4 separate regions of the Homo sapiens genome follow, and all the other regions are linked to region 1. The links are contacts of gene promoters, found by promoter capture Hi-C in blood cells and fetal thymus (Javierre and others, 2016). All regions are on one chromosome and are shown on one strand. The core of a region is centred on a gene start or on the middle of the fragment in contact, and the rest is flanking DNA. Distances in the headings are between cores, read along the strand shown.

The links. The method cuts DNA at HindIII sites, captures the fragments that hold promoters and counts their contacts. A CHiCAGO score of 5 or more calls a contact.
Region 2: a fragment that was not itself captured here is called in contact with the fragment with the promoter of TFPI2 in region 1 in 6 of 17 cell types (megakaryocytes, total B cells, M2 macrophages and 3 more); the score reaches 9.6 in megakaryocytes.
Region 3: a contact is called between a fragment that was not itself captured here and the fragment with the promoter of TFPI2 in region 1, in 3 of 17 cell types (total B cells, M2 macrophages and megakaryocytes). The highest score is 6.7, in total B cells.
Region 4: a contact is called between a fragment that was not itself captured here and the fragment with the promoter of TFPI2 in region 1, in 1 of 17 cell types (endothelial precursors). The highest score is 5.1, in endothelial precursors.

What each region holds. Positions count from the first base shown.
Region 1 is chr7:93,888,500-93,892,120 of GRCh38, forward strand. TFPI2 (tissue factor pathway inhibitor 2) reads right to left here and starts at 2,254. Exons shown (of 5, transcript NM_006528.4): 1 at 2,092-2,254; 2 at 1,638-1,820; 3 at 536-724. The coding sequence starts at 2,179. TFPI2-DT (TFPI2 divergent transcript) reads left to right here and starts at 2,395. Exons shown (of 2, transcript NR_134235.1): 1 at 2,395-2,580. The HindIII fragment of the contact is 7,194 bases long and covers 1,000-3,621 here.
Region 2 is chr7:94,082,137-94,085,682 of GRCh38, forward strand. No RefSeq gene overlaps it. Among named protein-coding and RNA genes, the nearest start is that of BET1, 80 kb to the left of the region's middle. The HindIII fragment of the contact is 3,160 bases long and covers 1-2,901 here.
Region 3 is chr7:94,099,371-94,102,674 of GRCh38, forward strand. No RefSeq gene overlaps it. Among named protein-coding and RNA genes, the nearest start is that of BET1, 97 kb to the left of the region's middle. The HindIII fragment of the contact is 3,875 bases long and covers 22-3,304 here.
Region 4 is chr7:94,039,262-94,042,798 of GRCh38, forward strand. All of the region lies in intron 1 of LOC130890646 (a long non-coding RNA gene), which reads left to right. Among named protein-coding and RNA genes, the nearest start is that of BET1, 37 kb to the left of the region's middle. The HindIII fragment of the contact is 1,077 bases long and covers 1,357-2,433 here.

The DNA of each region.
Region 1 (3,621 bases), core at 1,004-3,503:
GAAAGAAAGAAAGAAAAGAAAGAAAGAAGGAAGGAAGGAAGGAAAGAAGGAAGGAAGGAAGGAAGGAAGGAAGGAAGGAAGGAAGGAAAGAGAAAGAAAGAAAGAAAGAGAAAAAGAAAGGAGAGAAAGGAAGGAAGGAGAGAAAGAAAGAGAAAGAGAAAGAAGAAAAAAAAAAAAATTAGCTGGGCATGGTGGCGGGCGCCTGTAGTCCCAGCTACTCAGGAGGCTGAGGCAGGAGAATCGCTTGAACCCGGGAGGCAGAGGTTGCAGAGAGCCGAGATTGTGCCACTGCACTCCAGCCTGGGCAACAGGGCGAGAGTCCGTCTCAAAAACAACAAATCAGAAGAGGCAGAAAGCAAAAATTTGAATCATGGCTTTGTCACTTTCCAGTCCTAAGAACTTGACAAGTCACTAACTTGTCAAGTAATGTGAAATCATGAAAATGCACATGTTAATTTCGCATCAAATTGAGTTTTTTCCACCCAAATGTCTTTTCAAAAAAGTGAAATAGAAATACCATAAAAATCGTATTTACTTTTCTTTGGTGCGCAGAAGCCCATACAAGTAGCTTCATCTGGAAACCTGTTCTCAATCCGGTTCCGGTGACACCCACCGGAAAAGAATTTTTCACATGTCATGGAACTTAGATTAAAGAAATACTTTTCTGTGGACCCCTCACACTGGTCGTCCACACTCACTTGCAGCCGGCAAACTTTGGGAACTTCTAGGAAAAGGAGGGTAATAGAACAATGTTAGTCAAAAGTAGCCTTCTTATTAAACCATCACTGTATTTTCAGCAACATTTTGTGGGGGGAGAGAAGTTGTATTAGTGTTGGGATAGTAAATACCCAGAATACTCCCATGAATCCAGATATTTACTTTTTTTTTTTCTAACAGTGTATTCAGAGCTGACTCAGCTGTGATGTATCTTTCAAGTTCAGTAGAAAGACTCTCTGTTTTCTCTGGGTGTTCTCTGATTGTACATATGCAGTGAATCAAAGCTTATTCACATGAATACGCATTTTCCCCTGGCTCAGTTCCTTGAATGGAAAAGCCCCATGTTCTCTTACAGGCCTTAACCGATATAATTTAAAAATTAAAAATAAATTAAAATATAACAGTATTATGAATCTCCACCATGTCCCGCAACTAATCCAACACATGTTTGGGTATCGGGACAAAAGTAGAGTTATATAATGAGCTAAGTCACACTTCAATAATAAAATCCACTAAAAATATTTCAGATTGATGGATAATCGACAGAAGGAAATGATGTACTCCAGGAGAGATAAAAATCATAGGTTTGGAATTAATGAAAAATACAGAGAAGCACTTACGTTGTACCTAACACGTTATTCTCTTGCATTTATTATACCCCATGGTGAGGGAACAAATCTTTCCCTGAGTCCGCACAGGCACTGAATTATGATCAATGTCAGTTGGGAGACAGGAAATGTGTTAGTGGTTGTAAATTTGTGATTACTTTTAAGAAACTGAAAACCATGAGGTTTGCTTAACACTTGAGAAAACCCAGGCTAAAACTTCCTGTAGAAAGCGAGACGTGGGAAACTGGCGAAGCTGCTACCAGCCGCCGGCGCAAGGAGCGCGAGAGTCCTGGGTGCGCGCAGGGCACTTACTTTCTATCCTCCAGCAAGCATCGTCGCAAGCCTCCCAGGTGTAGAAATTGTTGGCGTTGCCCTCGCAGCCCCCGTACAGGAACTGGCGGCAGCTCTGCGTGTACCTGTCGTAGTAGTAACGGAGAAGTAGGGCCCGGCAGGGTCCGTAGTCTAGGGGCAGGAGACAGATCTCCGCGTTATTTCCTGAAGAAGGGGCAGAAGGAGAGCAAAAGAGAGGGAAAGTGGTCAGGCGTAGCTCCTAGGAGGAAAGAACATCCCGGGGAGTTCTGTCCCCTTCCGAGCGGAGGGGCCTCTGCAGAGAAAGTGCAAACTTGGGAGCGAGTCCCCCCTGCCAGCGGAGCGCGCGGCAGGGACCTGGAGAAAGCGAGGCTTGGAGGGCGCCTACACGGGGCCCCATGGCCCGCTGCGCCCTCTCCGCCGGTTGGGGAGAGAAGCTCCTGGAGCGGCCAGATACCTGTTGGCTCCTGAGCAGCATCGCCCAGTGCAGCCTCCGTCAGGAAAAGCAGCAGAATCGACAGCCCCAGGGGGCGAGCGGGGTCCATGGTGCAGGGGGTCGGGCGGCCCGCTGGGCAAGGCGTCCGAGAAAGCGCCTGGCGGGAGGAGGTGCGCGGCTTTCTGCTCCAGGCGGCCCGGGTGCCCGCTTTATGCGGGGCGAGCGTCCGGCCGACCCCCGCCGGGGCGGAGCCTGAGGGGTGGCTGATTCATGCACGGGGACTGTCACCCCGCCGCCCCCGCGCTGCAAACTGTGTAAGAGGGAGAGGAATTCCCCGCCAAGTTGAAAAGTTGAACCTGCCTCCCAAACTTTCTCCTGTAGTCCAGACGGGGACGCCCTGAGGGAGCGTTTGTGTCAGTAATGGGAAATCTGCAAGCTAGACGGAAATGACCTGCTAGTGATTGCGCTGTAAAGAAGCCGGAATCCACCTCTTGAAGGCATGAAGTTCAGGTATTTGAAAGGCTGGTGGAGAGAAAGTGCGGAGTTCTTGGGTCAGAGCGGAGCGGGATTCGTTGCAATGGACCTTCAGATTAGATTAGAAATGTAAATAAGTGTATATTTATATTTATACACACAGATTTCAATCGAGTTCTAATTTACATTTAATACAGGCTTATAATATATCGTAGGTGGACAGTTTGATAAATTTTGACAACTGTGTAGCCACCAATAAAGAATTAGAACATTTTGGCTGGGCGCGGTAGCTCGCGCCTGTAATCCCAGCACTTTGGGAGGCCAAGGCGGGTGGATCACCTGAAATCAGGAGTTCGAGACTAGCCTGGCCAACATGGCGAAACCCCGTCTCTATTAAAAACACAAAAAATTAGCCGGGCGTGGTGGCGGGCACCTGTAGTCCCAGCCCCTCGGGAGGCTGAGGCAGGAGAATGGCTTGAACCCAGGAGGCGGAGGCTGCAGTGAGCCCAGATGGCGCCACTGCACTCCAGTCTGGGCGGCAGAGTGGAACTCCGTCTCGAAACGAAGAAAAAGAAGAAGAAGAAGAAAAAAAAAAGAGTTAGAACATTTCCATCACTCCAGAAAGCTCCTGCAGACTTTTTCCTAAATCAATCCTTCCATCCTTAGGCCAGGGGCAAACACTCTTCTCATTTCGATTACCATAGATTAGATTTGCCTATTCTTGAATTTCATATAAACGGAATTATAAAGTATTCACTGTGTAGTATTTCTTTCTCACACTTCCTGTTTTTGAGATACGCCCAGGTCACTGCATCAATAGTCTGTTTCTTTTAATTCCTGCGTAGTCCAAGGTATGAATTTACCAAAACGTATGAATATCCCACAATGTATAAATATGTTGCTGTGTGTATCAATAGTCTGTTCCTTTAAATCATTGAGTAATATTCTAATATATCACAAATGTCTTATTACTGGAATTTGTGTTGTTTCTAGTTTGTTTGGGGGCTCTTATGAAAAAAGCTGCTTTGTGTGGACCTGCAATTTTTATTACTCTTGGATAAAATACTTAGAAATGTT
Region 2 (3,546 bases), core at 72-2,571, 190 kb after region 1:
GGCTTTATATTTTCATAATGAGAATTTTAAAAACTATCTCAAAAATGATGCTTGGCTTCTGCAGTTGGATAGAGAATGTCCTATGATCATTAGGTCTGATCTGTTCTAGAGACAGAGCTGTTAGCAACTCCCAGCCAGGAAGTGCAGATAACTCAGTGGATGGCTCCCTCCACATCAGAGGAAAAACATCTCAGAGTGCCTTTGCTGCACTATCATTCTATGTCAAGGAAATACTGCTTGAGGGTTAATAATAAACTTCTATTCCTTGGTAGAAATATAATAAACTCAATGTAGTAATACAAATGAGATAAATCAAAATAAAGTCCTTGAATTCCAGTACTTTGTGGTTTTCTGTCCTTTGTGCAGCATCACAGGGGTGTATCAATTTATTTCAAGGGTGTTAAATTCTATCATTCACTGCCACCATCTCATAAGAAAAAGTGACACTCTTAAGGCAACAAAACTGAAAGGCATCACAATAAGCTATTTAGCAAAGGTCTGGAATGTCCTCAAGAAAGTCAATGTTGAGGGTAGAGTGTTTCCTCAAGGAAGTGGAGCTATTCCTCATAGCACTGTCTGCAGAGGGTTTGCTGAAAAATCATACAGAGACCCAGCAGCTGCACCATACATCACATATCAGAGTCTTAGGAAAAGGAGATGCACTTTGGAATGGAGATGCTGGAATTAATGCATAGTTAAGAGGTATTTGGACTTTATCATTTTACTGACCAGTAGTAGCTGGTCATTTTTTAAAAACGGGGTCTATTATAGAGGCAAATTTTTTAAGTAAAGATGTTTAAAAATATAGTCATTTAGTATTACTATTTCATGCAGAAAATTAAAAAAAGCATTTAATAGCAACAAAAAGGAAAAACATAGTTCCCAAATAAAACACCATATTTAAATTTAAAAAGAAAAGTAAGCGCTTTGTTAAAAATGTATCCTATTGCCCTATTGCTTTTCTAGATAGAGTGGTGAAAATTTTATCAAGGGTCAAGACCACTCAGTGGACATTGATAAGAACCACCGATGTGCATGATGTTACTTAATGTTGTCCTTTTCACCTGGTAGATACCTTTACAGTGGGATTTGAGAATCTTTGATTTTGAGAAGATTACTACTTCAGCTGCCTGCTGCTGTTCACAGAGCAAATGATGGTTGAACTCCTGGCCGGCGAAATTTCATTTATTTGTTCTGAAAATATTTAATGATGTCATTTTATCTCTTAAGATCCAAATCAAATAGAAAATGTAAAACAATAAACACAAGGTGTCAGGTGTCTGGCTTATACAATCCTTTTAAGAAATGGTCCACAAACAGTGCATCCGAATTAGTTGGTGATACTTTTAAAAACAATGAAGTTTATGGAGCCACACCCAAGATCTGTTTAAATCAGAAAGGTTAGGAGTAAAGCCTAGGAATCTACATTTGTGACATGCTCTATAAGTGATTCTTATATACACCAAACTTTGAAAATAACTTTTTTGGATGACCCCAGATGGACAAGATCATATCCTGCTCTGGGGGCCAAATTAAGTCATTTTTAGCTGCATTTTGAAGGATGGGTAGGACTTGAGGATGAGAATTGGAAGGAAGGGGCATTCTTTTTGGAAATAATGACATGAATGGAAACATAGAAGCAGAAGAACAAATTGTATTTAGCGAATGGTGAGGAGACCAGTGTTGTTGGAGACAAGCTATAATGAAGGGGAAGAGCAAAAAGAAAAATGAAGAAGCACGTAGGAGTGACATTGCGATTGACTGTCCCACTAGAAAGCATCTGCTTCCCATACAACAAATAAATAGAAGGTCCTCCAAGTATAGGTGACCTAAGCAAATATAGTAAATGTTACAGGTTCAAAGATGGTGGAGGGGTGAGAATGGGGGGTTCTGTAGAGCAGGCACTCCTCTATTTTCAATTATCTGTTTACTTATTAATATTCAGCTTTGATCCAAAAATTTAGAAACAAGCTCTGACAATCTAATTTCATTAACAGAATTAATAAATGAGCTTTGTTGATGTGTCTGCATTGTAACATCCTCAGATAAAGCAGTGCTAATCAACTGCTGTGGTGGATAAAGATAAGCACACAAAGACTGTGATGATGTTTCCCTCCCTTTTCATAATTAACTTTCGAATCTGTCATGCTTTTCAAGGTCTAAAATAAAATAGTAGGCAGTGAAAGTTTGATCATCAATTGCATTTAATAACACCAATGGATATTAGATCTTACTGTTCTATTTAATATTTTACTTACTTTTTATTTAAACTTCAGATTCTATCAGATTCTATATTTTCATGCTGTTTCATTCTTAAAACGCTTTCATTCCCAATTCAGGGATATTTGTAGATTCTTACTATTTGAGTGCATGAGTTAAACCTTCCATCTACTGGCTCACTAGGAGGCCTGTCCACCATGAGACCAATCCAGTGCTGAGCCACAAGCTGCAGCAACTGTCATGGTGGAAGAACCCTATGGCCACATTTTGATATTTTTTTCTTCTTGGCCACTTCTTTCATCAGATATTATTCTACAGCTGCCAAAGTCCACACTGCCACCACTGTTCATGGCACACAACTCTAGACCAGTTTGAAATTAGGTGTTCATGTTCAAATTCTGACCTGATCACAGGTCATGGGCCTAGTGTGGAAGAATAATTCAATGTCATGTGGTACAAAACATGGCCAACTATATAAGCAATCACCTGTAAATAACTCTTGAACCCCTTTGGAAAGGAGTTGTGATCATGACAGATTACATTACTGACCTTTCCACTACAGCATACTATTCAGTACAGGGATCTTTTGACACAGGCAACCAGTTTATAAAACCAACATACAATGTGCTTAAAAAGATATTCAATTCATCCATGCTCAAATGATGAAGGCTTGATTCTGGAAGCTTGACCATGAGTGACTGAACTCTGTCGTAGAGAAGTGGCACCTTTCTGATCTGAGTCATAAATAGTGGCATAGGATATGATTTCAAGTTCAAATTTTGTAGCATTGAATTCAAATTTATCAATAAAATATATAAACTCTTCAAGATGAAAAACCTGTGTGAAGTTCACCAGTAGACCATAGCGAACACAAATTGAATATCCAAGCCTGAATGCAAAAGTGATTTCATAGCTCCAGAGCTTTATCCTGCAAACCAATAATAATAATAATAAAAACTATGCAGCTGGAGTGGTCAGGTCCTCTTCATCACTGCCAGGGATTCCTAGCTGGTCTTATTGCAATTCTGGGTTCTCATAACCACTGCCACTAAGAGTGGAGCTGGAGGCATAAGCAAAGGACAGACCAGTGTCTCCAACTCTCTTATACCTGGGCACTGAGCCTCCACAGCACCCACAAACAACCCAGTAGCCCCACGGGATAGGGCCAATGCCACAGCCCACAGGTTATGTGCTTTTTATGTTTTCTGTTTGCAATCGCACTGCAAATTACAGAGCCTTTGTTAATGTTGTCATGACTGAAACACTGATGAATGATTTGAAGCCATTTCCCAAGAAGCATGAAGAAGCTTGTCATTCTGGCTTAAC
Region 3 (3,304 bases), core at 709-3,208, 210 kb after region 1:
TCCACAAGTTTTGTCACTTCAAGCTTTGCTTGTTCTTAAATAAGACTAGTGAAAAATTTCTTATATAACACTAGTGAAAGTTATGTAGTCAGAGGAAAAAAATTTCTATTGGAAACCAGAAGTTCCAAGTAATAGAGATATTATTTTTTGATTTTGGGTATTTTTATTGGTAAATACACCACTGGTCAGATTTGAGTTAAAAACAAAAACAAAAACTTGATTTATTTTGTTACAATAAAAGCAGCAAAAAAGTACTATAACTACTATCCCGCTTTTGTATAACTCTAGCAAATGTTAACTGAAGAAAATACTTTCACTTTGTTTTTTCTCTAAGGAATGAAGTCTGCAGCCCACCATTACAGCCCATGTTCTGAAACAACCTGCCACTGAGCTCTGTGACCTCCAGCCACACAGAGCTGCCTGCTGGTTCCTCCATCTATGGCCTATGTTCACAGGGTACAGTATGCACCTCTTTGCACTTTATGCTGCCACTAGTCACTTAACTGTCTGTTACCCGCTTGGACTGTGAACTCCCAAAGGCAGAAACCATAATTATTCATCTTAGTGGTTCCTAGCATGTGGCACAACATCTGCATAATGTATGTGCTTGATTAGTGTTAATTGAATAAAAGTAAACTACTTTTATTTTCAGTGGCCTTCTAATTATGTAAAGCAGTATAATTCTAATGAATACTAGAGTCCTAAATGTAACATAACAGTGTATCTCTGTGTTTCAGACATTTTTAAAAAAGAAGTGAATTTTAGTGAAGTACATATTTTCTAATTATGTAAACATAAAATGTCCTCAAATTACTCCAATTTTCTCATGCTCTCTTTTATGTGAGTATGTAGGAAAATGGGGCCTCCTGTTATTATCTGTCCTGTTTGGTTTTAATTAGCATTGTTAACATATAACAAAACATGCAAACATAGGAACATCTAGATGACTATAGCTTTCATTTTTTATTCCCATATTTGGAGGCACATAGATGTAGCCACTTGGTACTTAAATATTTCTTTACAAAACATCAACAGACAGGAAAAAAATGTAAATAGAAATGCTAGTAATTTTAATGAGAGCTAGCTCTAAAAATCCAAGATTAACTCCATCTCAAATACCATAAATAAATACTTATTTTTCTGGACCAATGCTTATCTGGAGCCAGCATCAAACACACAGCTATGACAGATGTCTTAGGACATTTTCCTGAGTAATAAATAAAAAAACAAAAACAAATATAATGAAGGACAAATACTAACCCTATGATTCCTTTCTTCTGCCCTTCACTTCACCAGTTCTATGTAATATGTTATCTTCTGTAATATCCATGCACAGATTACACATGCTATTGAGAGGTGACAGTGTGCTGGCAGCCCTTGCTCGCTCTGGGCACCTCCTCAGGCCACGGCGCCACTCTGGCTGCGCTTGAGGAGCCCTTCAGCCCCCTGCTGCACTGTGGGAGCCCCTCTCTGGGCTGGCCTAGGCCGGGGCCGGCTCCCTCTGTTTGTGGGGAGGTGTGGAGGGAGAGGCGCCGGCGGGAATCGGGGCTGTGCATGCGCTCGCAGCCCAGTGTGAGTTCCGGGTGGGCGTGGGCTTGGTGGGCCCTGCACTCAGAGTGGCCAGCTGGTGCCGCTGGCCCTGGGCAGTGAGGGGCTTAGCACTCCAGCCAGCAGCTGCAGAGGGGGTGCTGGGTCCCCCAGCACTGCCAGCCCGCCTGCTCCACACTCGAATTTTCATGGGGCCTCAGCCACCCCCCTCAATGGGCTCCCGCCAGGCCCCGGACTCCCTGATGGGTGCCGCCCCCTGCTCCATGCACCTGGTCTCATCCACTGCCCAATGGTGGAGTGCAGGCACGTGGCACGGGACTGGTGGGCAGCTCCGCCCGTGGCCCCAGTGCGGGATCCACTAGGCGAAGCCAGCCGGGCTCCTCAGTCAGGTAGATACTTGGAGAACTTTTATATCTAGCTGGAAGATTGTATATGCACCAATCAGCACTCTGTGTCTAGCTCAGGGATTGTAAATGCACCAATCAGCACTCTGTGTCTAGCTCAAGGTTTGTAAACACACCAATCAGTGCTCTGTGTCTAGCTAAAGGATTGTAAACGCACCAATCAGCACTCTGTGTCTAGCTCAGGGATTGTAAATACACCAATCAGCACCCTGTGTCTAGCTCAAGGTTTGTAAACACACCAATCAGCACCCTGTGTCTAGCTCAAGGTTTGTAAATGCGCCAGTTGGTGCTCTGTGTCTAGCTAATCTAGTGGGGACTTGGAAAACTTTTGTGTCTAGCTAAAGGATTGTAAACGCACCAATCAGCACTCTGTGTCTAGCTCGGGGATTGTAAATACACCAATCAGCACTCTGTGTCTAGCTCAAGGTTTGTAAATGCACCAATCAGCACTCTGTGTCTAGCTCAAGGTTTGTAAATGCACCAATCAGTGCTCTGTGTCTAGTTAATCTAGTGGGGACTTGGAGAACTTTTATGTCTAGCTAGACGATTGTAAATACACCAATCAGCACTCTGTGTCTAGCTCAGGGATTGTAAACGCACCAATCAGCACCCTGTCAAAACGGACCAATCAGCTGTCTGTAAAACGGACCAATCAGCTGTCTGTAAAACGGAGCAATCAGCTCTCTGTAAAATGGGCCAATCAGCAGGATGTGGGTGGGGTTAGATAAGGGAATAATAGCAGGCTGCCCAGGCCAGCAGTGGCAACCCCCTGGGTCCTCTTCCACACAGTGGAAGGTTCGTTCTTTCACTCTTTGTAATAAATCTTGCTGCTGCTCATTCTTTGGGTCCGTACTGTCTTTATGAGCTGTAACACTCACTGCGAAGGTCTGCAGCTTCACTCCTGAAGCCAGTGAGACCACGAACCCACCAGAAGGAAGAAACTCTGAACACGTCCAAACATCAGAAGGAGCAAACTCCGGACACACCATCTTTAAGAACTGTAACACTCACCGCAAGGGTCTGCGGCTTCATTCTTGAAGTCAGTGAGACCAAGAACCCACCAATTCCGGACACAGTCATGTACTAAAGAACTATGATACATTTTTGAAATATTGTTGATAATCCTAGCTAAATTTTTAGACAAGAAAACAAGCTCAGGAGGGCAAGCAATTTCATAGATCTCAAAAAGTTCGCGTTGAAGTGAAAAACTATTATTTTGGAATCTGTTGATTATTATATAAAGCCTCAATCCATTTCTGAATATTAATGAATTTTTAATAAAGTCATAATTGTCTTTGTTCCAATATGTTTACAATTTACAACTCTACTTACATGAATGCTCAGAGTAGTTT
Region 4 (3,537 bases), core at 645-3,144, 150 kb after region 1:
TCACTTGTCTTAGTGAAATGCACCTTAGTTTGACTCAGAAAGCACAATCAAGTCAGCCTGTTGCACTATCTTTGCCTACTTGCATTTCATTTCTTTCTCGCTTCAACATTTATTAGATGCCTATTTGAGGAGGAGGAAGAGGAGGTTAAAACTATGAAGCATACGCAAATCAGCCACCTTTAAGTGCAGTAATTAAAGATGATAGTTTATATATATTAATATAGTCACTGGCCCTGTTCTTTCAAGTGCTGTGAAATGCGTGGGTTGGATAGAGTTGAGACTTCCTCACATAGGTTCCAGCACCTTTCAGGCAACTGCTATTAGTAGGCAATTACTTGATGGTTTCTGTTAATAGATCAGGTCAGGTTTAACTTGAAGTCACTTGCTTTTATACTGTGTCTCATAACAGTCGGCATTTGGTATCAATTGCTAAAACGTCTTTTCTTCCTCTGGCAGCAGTTGAAATTAATTTGGTGTTCTTCCTGCTGGCTTATCCCTGTGCAACATTATTTCTTCTTAGTTCTTGACATAAAGACTTCCTCTAGCAGGGCAGCCAACCTAATCCCCACAAAGAAAATGGCCCGGCAGGCAACCCAGGCTGTCACAGCAGCAGACACTGAACCCAAACCCAGGTCGGCTGCTCCTTTGCCCCCTTTCTCCTTCTCCATCTGCGTATTTAGAGTGAGACTCTAAAGAGGCTTTTGTGCAAACTTCGACTTATATTAAGAGGATATACACTGTGGTAGGAAAACGAGAGGCTTTGGGTTTAGATAGCCCCTTTTTTACACTTTGATTCCACCCCTTACTTGTGTGACCCGGGACAAGCCATTTAATCTCTCGGTACCTAGTGACTTCATCCGTAAAACAAGAAACTCATTTCAACCCCATATATACATACATACATATGTATTACCTATCATATGCCAGACAGATAGTAAGTTAGTAAGTGCTTCAAAAATTCCTTCTTGGAAGGAAATGTCCTTTCTACAGCCTCAATCCAAAATGAATGGTTGTGATTTTTTGGAGGTAGTCTTTTTAAAGCTCCCCTGACTCAAATAGCCTAGCTGAGTGAAGGGACAGCCTTCTCAGGGCCCTGTGGGCCTGTCACAAGCAATGATTTATGGCTTGTGACAGCACGTGCTCATGTTTGAAACCACAGCTTGCTGAGGCTAGAGTGGGTTTCTGAGGCTTTTGTGTAATGGGCTTTGTTTCATGCTAATAAACACAAAAACTTCTTCTCTATAAACATGTTCCTTATGGACCCCTGAGGCTATAGTGCTGATGAGTTTATTTTTTTAAAGAAAAATAGGATGAACTACAACCACCCAATTAGAGAGACTCAGTCGGATCACTAGAAGCTTTCAGTCCTGGACACAACAGAAGAGGTTTTAAGGGACTCATGCAGGAGAAACCATAATGAGAAAAACACGGAATTTGCTTTTATTCTTAGAAGCAGCTTTGTTTTATCTCTAGGCTCAGAGCTGTGCTGCTGGAACTGAACTCATTTCCCAACAAACTGTTTTTGTTTCTCACTTGTTATGTGAATAACCTCAGAAATGCAGGCATCTTAGTCCCTGCAAGTGCAAAGAGTTTGACGACACAATGAGTAGCTGTGGACAATTTCCAACTCTCACCCGGAAGCCTGTACCTATTGGAAGAGAGTCGCCAAATCCTAGGATGGTTCTGATCCAGGAGCCTCCCTAGGGAAATGTTAACAAAGAGGATGAAACTAAAGAAGTAATTCTCTAGGTACTGCTTTTACCCATGGGCTATTGCCCAGACACTGCCATGTGTGCATTTTTTAAGATTATTTGTGGATGATGGGATCATGGGCAGCTGATGAAGAAAAACATCAGAATAAAAGTTCTAAAGCATAGTAAGCCTCCACCTGTGGAGCCACCCTGATGTGCAGATATATTCTAAAGTTTGAGTCCAAGCTGTTCCAGATCAATGCCATTAAGATTAGGGCTGCATCTCTTCACTGAGCTAGCCAGCTCTGAGATACCACAGCAGAGTTCTGATTACATACATCCCTTCCTTATCTTCCTCTAATTTTTTTTCCTCTGTTGATTCCCCCATTGTTGGCATATCTTATCAAGGTTTGTTTTTCTTTAGGTCGTTATTAAAAATAAGAGAGAAAGATGTACTTGCCTACTCTTAAAGTGGATCTTAAAGCAGATGTGTTTGTTCCATCAACTCATCCTCCGTTCATAGTAGCATATTCAGTACAGATACATTTATTAAACACTAATACCAGCCATATCCTGTACCATGCACTAGGATTCAATAGTGAGCAAAACAGAAACTTAAAACCATAACCAAAAAATCAAAGAAATATAACACTGTAAACTATAATCAGTGGCACAGAGGAGAAGTACAAGCTACAAGAAGAACTTGTAGCTGGGGATCTGATAAAGGCTTATGAGTCACAGAAGCTTTCCTGAGGGATGGTTTTTTTTGGATCAAGACCTGATGAATAAGTAAAAGCAAAAGCAAGATAATTCTGGGCCACAGAAGCAGCAGGTGCAAAGGTCCTGAACCAAAAGGAATTTGGCATATTGGTGGAACTGAAAGCAAGAGAGTGTTGCCAGAAAGCCAAAGATGAGTGGAAGATGACAAAGGCAGGGTTGGGAAGCAGTGGCCACATCAAGTAGGACCAAAGACATTGGGTTTTTAATCTACAAACCAATGAGATACATTTAACGTTTAATAAAAAGAGATATGATCAGATTTGTTTATAAAATATTAAAATAACTGCAGCATGTAGAGCTGATTAAAGAGAGGGTGTGGTGGTTTTAAAGTATGATCACAAATTCTCTTATATTCTTTGTTTCAATAGTTGGAGTATAATTCTTCTCTTGAGTGTGGATGGGTTCAGTGATTCACTCCTAATAAAAACGGACAATGCAGCCCCTACCACATTCTCTTTAATCATTTGTTCTGGAGGAAGCTAGCTGCCCTGTGATGAGAAACTAAAAACTTCTAGCAAGAAGCTTGGAACTCCAACAGCCATGTGATCCAACTAGGGAGCAAATCCTCTAGCCACAGTCAAGCCTTCAGATGATGGTAGCCTCTGTCAACATCTTGACAGACTCCAAGTTAGAACAAACCAGCTTAATGGCTCCTGGCCTCCCGACGTTCAGAAACTGTGTGAGAATATAATTATTTGTTATTTTAAGCAGCTAAATGTTGGAATGATTTGTTGTGCAGCAATAGATACTAAATATAGAAGGTAAAAACAGATATTAGTAGGATGTTTCCACAGCAGCCCAAACAGATAATGATGCCTTAACTTAAAGTGAATGCTACTCAAGTACATCTTCACTTCCTCTTTCTAAGCACACACCATGGGTATCAGATATGACCACTGGAAAGCAGTAGAGGTAGCTTTGAATCCAGGGTTTGCTATTTGATTATAGAGGATCTTGTAGCGCCTCTCTATAGCAAGGGTTGTTTTATTCAAATGATGGAGCCACTAATATTACTTCCCTCTTAGATTACATGAGAGATGCATGTAAAGTCCATAGTAAAGGTGTT